2 separate regions of the Homo sapiens genome follow, and region 2 is linked to region 1. Evidence: promoter capture Hi-C in 16 types of primary human blood cells and fetal thymus (Javierre and others, 2016). All regions are on one chromosome and are shown on one strand. Each heading gives the region's core, a stretch centred on a gene start or on the middle of the fragment in contact. The rest is flanking DNA. Distances are from core to core; before and after follow the strand shown. Region 1 holds the start of MYH10 (myosin heavy chain 10). Region 2 overlaps NTN1 (netrin 1).

Region 1 (2,962 bases), core at 205-2,704:
GCTTAATTCACTTTTTGCCAGACTAGACGTTTCCTAGGCTTAGGCAAACACATCATTATCACATGTATTAAAATGCTCCCATAGCCTACATTAATAACTGATTAATAACTGCATCTTGCTGTGAATTTTTATGATCTTGACTTTCAGGTTTTGTATGAATAATTCATTTTGTTCATGTGATTTAGACTTTATTATATTTATATATAATTATGCAAGAGTTTTGTTGCAGTTGCCTAGATTCTGCAGACATTTCATTAAATTTTATTTACTTTGATTTTTCCAGTTTCCTTTCGTTATTTTGGGGCCACTGTTTTTCAGTCTCCAACGTTTTCATAAGCCCTAGGGGATATGACAGCGCTACAGGAATCCAGCCTTATATTCTTAAGAACCTCTCATAGCCCTTCACGTAGGGAGCTCTGATGAATGAATGAAGGAGCGACTGAACGAGTGAATGAATGAGGTGAATAAAGTTTCTTCCAAGTTTTCTCTCCAAGGTCGGTTCTCTTCTCATTCTTCTGGAATCTCAGCCTTGCCTGGAGGCTGGGCAGGAGAGCCTCTCACCCCGCTAACACCAAAACTGCGACCTTGGAGGACCGTGTCCTGCGCCTGGCGCTCGGCCGATCCCGGCAGAGTCCGCCTGGGGCCGGGGTCGGGACAGTGGCCGCAGCGTGGAGCGCAGCCGGGTCCCGGGCCAAACCCTGTGCGCATGGGCGGAGCAGCGCCCTCCCCCGCGTTCCTTCCCCCACTGCAGGTGAGTCGCAGCGCCGCGGCCCCAACCCCGCGCAGCCCCGGGGGTGACGTCAGGACTCTGGACCGCGCTCCGCCCCGCCCCTGCAGGCAACGCTGAGGGCCCGCGACTCCGCGGTGGAACCCCGTCCCGCTGCGGTACATGCCGGCTGCCGCAAGCACAGGGGGCGACCGGGCGCTCGAATGTGCTGCGGCTGCGGCGGCTGCCTGACGCTAGGACGAGGAGTCTGCAGTCAGAGCGCCAGCCTCCTGCCGCGGCCCACCTGCCCCGCGGCCCGCACAGCCAATGTCAGCGCAGCGCGCCGGCCGCCGCGGGGCCCGCACCCGCAGCCTCGCGGGATCGCCGGGCGTTCAGCCAGCCTCAGCTGTCCATCTACGCACGAGCCAGCCAATCCCGCGCCACTGCCCCGGCCGCACCTCCCGGAGCCTATGACGGGCGTAAGAGCCAGCCCATGAGATTGGGGCCTCTGTGGCCTGGGCTGGGAGCGGGAGCCAATGAGCGTCATTCCAGGTGGGTGGAGGGAGCCGGACTCGGGAAGGTAGCTTCGTTCGGGTTGCTAACGTCTTCCCTTGGAGATGGGCGCGCAAACCAACCAGTGGGTCTGGGGGCGGCGGTGATGGGCGTGGAGCTGGCCCAATGAGGGTAGGGGTGGGTGGGGCAGCCCCGAGCAGCAGTGCTAAAGGAGCCCGGCGGAGGCAGCGGTGGGTTTGGGACTGAGGCGCTGGATCTGTGGTCGCGGCTGGGGACGTGCGCCCGCGCCACCATCTTCGGCTGAAGGTGAGAGGTGCGGCTACCCGGGTCCGAGTGCACGGCCCAGGGCTGGGGGACAGTTTGTGGAGGGAGGAATGGCTCCTGGGCTGAGGGGTCCCGGGCGGCTCTGGAGGACAGGAACGGGGGACCGAAGCGGGAGCTGGGGAAGACAGAGGGGCTTCTGAGCTGTAGGGTTTGTGCTGCGGGGACCTTAGGTTAGTTTGAGCAGGGTCCTGGGCTGGGGGCACTGGGACCTCAGTGGGTGGAGATGGAGAGACTCCCGGAGGAGCGGGGAATGAAGTCCTTGTGAAACCCGCGGGGGTCAGGGCCTGGGTGTGCAGGAGGGCGACCCCTGGGGGGCTGGGGGATGGAGATCTGGGGGTGGGGACGTGAGGACCAGGTTCTCGGTGGGTGGGATCCCTGGGGGCGCGAGGTCGAGGGGCTAGTGTCCCGGCGGAGGTCTCGGCGTGCCCCGCGAGCCAGTGTCTGCCTCCCAGGAAGAGAGGGGATTCTAAGCGGGGCTGGAAAGCGCAGTCCCGGCGGTAGGGTGGGGGGGCGCTGGGCAGGAAGGGCCCCTGCGTGGGTTGCTGGGTGGGTTAGGCCTGGCGCGACCGGTCCCCCGCAGCACCAGAGGGGTTCACCATGGGCTTGGAAGGCGGGCGGCGCGCGCCCGACCCGTGGGTGGAGGGACAGGAGGGCATTGGCTCTGCGCGGCCGGGGAAGCGCGCGGCGGGTGAGGGGCTCCGGAGCCGGCCGCGGGCGTGGGGAGGGTCGGACTCCGCCGGCGCCGGGGAAGGAGCGCGGGAGGAGGGCGTCCTGCCGCGCCCTCCGTGGAGCGCCTAGGCCGGGGGTGGACGCCCTGCGAGGCCCAGGCGGTTTGAGGGGGCGAGGCGGGAAATGTGGCGGGGCGCGCTGCAGCAGGACGGCCGGGGGGAGGGTCAGCACTCGCCTCGGGATCCCTTTATTGTGTAAGCGAGCTGGGAATGGCTCGCCGCAGTCTCTTCATTGCCTTCTGCAGTTGGGGGTCACACCCTGATCCCATAAAATCGGACTGGAATTGGTTCGGAGGGAAGTTGAAGCCGCGGAGTCCTGGCATTTGTGGGGGCTTTGTGGGCCTGTGGTGGGCGGATGCGGCCCTGGGAAGCGGGAGGCCCCCAGCCAGGCCTGTTTGGAACTAGGGCCTTAGGAAGGAGGTTGGCGACTCGGCGGGTCAGACCGGGCTGGTGAGGTTTGGATAACGTGGCCTCTGCCTACAGCCGTTATCTCTGTTTCTTTAGGGCCTCTGCAGCTCCCTTCAAGATCACTGCGGTGGATGGAAGGGGGTGGGGTGGGCTGGGGTGGGGTAGGGGAAAGCAGGCGGGGTAGATGCAGACTGCAGATGAAACAAAGACTGCTGTTTTCGCTGAATAATGTAATACCAAACATAATACTTTGGCTTTGCTGAGATTTTGTTTTTTAACGTTG
Region 2 (3,074 bases), core at 427-2,926, 400 kb before region 1:
CCACACAGATGTGGTTCTGAGTGGAAGGAACGACCTTCACGTGGGAGAAGCCCCAGGAAGCCTCAGGCACCAGGGTCCTGGCCCAGGTTGGGGCATAATTTCTTTTGAGTGTAGGGACAGTGATAAGCTTTTGTTTCAAAATCCAAGGCAGTTCTGGAGGACCTGCCCAGAAACGTCGGGGCGGACATTCCTTGGGGGACCACTCTTTTCAGGGAACCATGGTCTCTCAAATTCTTGGCATGGGAGAAAACAAATACACTACAACAGAACCAATGCAGCAGGCAAATGTGATGTGGACTAAAATCCAATCCTTTCGTGGTACAGGAGCCAAATCCAAAATGCTCTTCCTCTCAAGACCCTCGGCCCCTCCCTGCACCCCGGACACTCAGCAAAGTGCCTCACTGGGGGCGCCTATCCCTGTTCAGGGTTAGTGCAAGTGGACACGTCTGCACCTTCTCACGTGCACAGCCTCCTTGATGGAAACATATTTCACCTGCAGGGAGGGCATCCACTTTACATTTCTTTTCTTTTTTTTTTTTATCTTCTTTTTTTGTTTGTTTTTGAGACACCATCTCTATCACCCAGGCTGGAGTGCAGTGGCACGATCTCGACTCATTGCAATCTCGGCCTCCCGGGTTCAAGAGATTCTCCTGCCTCAACCTCTGAGTAGTTAGGATTACAGGTGTGGGCCACCATGCCAGGCTAGTTTTTTTTGTTTGTTTGTTTTTGTATTTTTAGTAGAGATGAGGTTTCACCATGTTGGCCAGGCTGGTCTCGAACTCCCGACCTCAAATAATCTGCCTGCCTCAACCTCCCAAAGTGCTAGGATTACAGGTGTGAGCCACCGCACCTGGTCTACTTTACATTTCTTTACATGCCCAGACCAAACAGAGCCACCTGAACAGTAAATGCTCCAGAAATGTCCATGTATACAAAGTACTTCTCTGTCTGCAGGTTGGGGAAGGGGAAGGTCTTCAGAAGGGGACCAAAAATGGCAGATAGTTTTCATCTCATGGGCTAATTCTGCCTAAGGAGTTATATTGAGGAGTCTAATATTATAAGATCATTTCTCGACTTAGGAGGAAAGCATGCTGCCGTTGATTGCCAATGTCTGCCCTGGTTTTAGAATGCGGGAGTGGTGGTACATTTATTTGCTGGGTACTCACCACGGCCGCCCCAAAGCAGAAACAGACGAAATCAGAAGCCCTGACAATGGCAATCAAGCAGGCAGGAAGTGTCCCTCACTTGGGGACTTCAAATATGGAATGCAGCACAGCATACAGGCCCTCAGGAAACTCAGAGATCTACCTCATTTCCTTACATAGGACTCAGTTATTTAAAGCCAGCCCCTTTAGAGGTCCCTGTAGTCCTACAGATTGTCTCAATTAAGTGTGGAGTCTCTGGGATGTGTGAAAATTGGACACAACAACCAATAATCTCTCATCTTCAGGCAGAAAAAGACACGGGAAAAATCTAGAAAATCTAGCAATAGCACCAGCCAGGAGGGGGCACAGATGGGTTCCCAACTAAAATATGACCACGTGTGCAGCGAGCTGAGACCTTACACAGGCCAATTCCTGAATCCTCCAGGGAGACAGACTTCTAGCACCTTCCTCAGCAAGGCACTAGCTGAGTTGAGAAGTGAACTGGAGTGTTACTTTCTGCTTTTAAAGTTCTCACCCAACAAATTTACTTGAACCCTTTAAATAATCCGGAGGTCTACCACACTTACAGAACCATCTTTCTTTTCTTTCTTTTTTTTTTCTTTTCTTTTTTTTCTGAGTCTTGCTCTGTCACCCAGGCTGGAGTGCAGTGGCGTGATCTTGGCTCACTGCAACCTCTGCCTCTCGGGTTCAAGCAATTCTCCTGCCTCAGCCTCCCAAGTAGCTGGGATTACAGGCACGTGCCACCACGCCTGACTAATTTTTGTATTTTTAGTAGAGAAGGGGTTTCACTGTGTTGGCCAGACTGGTTTCGAACTCCTGACCTCGTGATCCCCCTGCCTCAGCCTCCCAAAGTGCTGGGATTACAGGCGTGAGCCACTGCGTCCAGCCACAGAATCATCTTTCTTCTAGGTCTTCTTCACATGCACCAATGCACTGCAGTGTGAATTCATTTCACCCTAACTGTAGTTAGTACACTAATCCCAATGACAGAAGGTCCAGGGATTGCTGGGGGTGGTCCTGACACAGGCAAGAGCGGAGCACAGCTTTCCATTCCTTGGCGGTACTCCTGAACCATAGGTACCCCTTTCTCCTCGGAGAGTATCTTCCTTTGTGCTCTGAGTGCCAGCAGCTGCCTCTGATAGAACTGTGCTTGGGGCAGGAACTTAAGCTCTGGGAGAAAAAGAAAAGGGTCTGATGGGAGACATTCTGTATCTCATCAATCACATGGCCACAGTCCCTTCTCTCCATCAGAGGGGAGAACTGGCACAAAATAATGTATTTGGGGCTGAATACACACCTAGCCAAGGCCTTTTGATGTGGGGGGAAATTCACATAAATTATGTAACTTTTTCTTTTTTTTTTGAGACGGAGTTTCGCTCTGTTGCCAGGCTAGAGTGCAGTGGGGCAATCTCAGCTCATCACAACCTCCGAGTCCCTGGTTCAAGCAATTCTCCTGCCTCGGCCTCCCAAGTAGCTGGGATTACAGGCACACGCCACCACGCCCAGCTAATTTTTGTATTTTTAGTAGACACGGGGTTTCACCATGTTGGCCAGGATGGTCTCCATCTCCTGACCTCATGATCTGCCCGCCTCAACCTCCCAAAGTGCTGGGATTACAGGCGTGAGCCACCGCGCCCGGCCAATGATATAACTTTTAAAACGCAAATTAAAATCTACTTCTTAGTTTACAATAGAAATCCATTTTTGGAGTAAGGAGACAGGAATGCAATACTGAGCTCACTAAGTTGTGCTACGCAAGTCAAACCTCATGAGAGCAGATATCTTTGAGGTGAACGTCTGTATCTACAGGACTGGCCCAGGCAGCTCACTTCTTTCAAGTACTATTCAGAACAACCGTCCCTCCGAGTTGGCTATAATAGGACACGGCTTTTATGTGATCAGTCTTCC

What was found. The method cuts DNA at HindIII sites, captures the fragments that hold promoters and counts their contacts. A CHiCAGO score of 5 or more calls a contact.
Region 2: a contact is called between a fragment that was not itself captured here and the fragment with the promoter of MYH10 in region 1, in 1 of 17 cell types (neutrophils). The highest score is 6.2, in neutrophils.

What each region holds. Positions count from the first base shown.
Region 1 is chr17:8,629,217-8,632,178 of GRCh38, reverse strand. MYH10 (myosin heavy chain 10) reads left to right here and starts at 1,454. Exons shown (of 43, transcript NM_001256012.3): 1 at 1,454-1,525. RefSeq lists enhancers at 1-48, 747-1,524, 1,525-2,302, 2,303-2,962 and a silencer at 583-1,262. The HindIII fragment of the contact is 12,132 bases long and covers 1-2,962 here.
Region 2 is chr17:9,029,445-9,032,518 of GRCh38, reverse strand. The region is part of intron 2 of NTN1 (netrin 1); the gene reads right to left. Among named protein-coding and RNA genes, the nearest start is that of NTN1, 9.5 kb to the right of the region's middle. The HindIII fragment of the contact is 3,093 bases long and covers 130-3,074 here.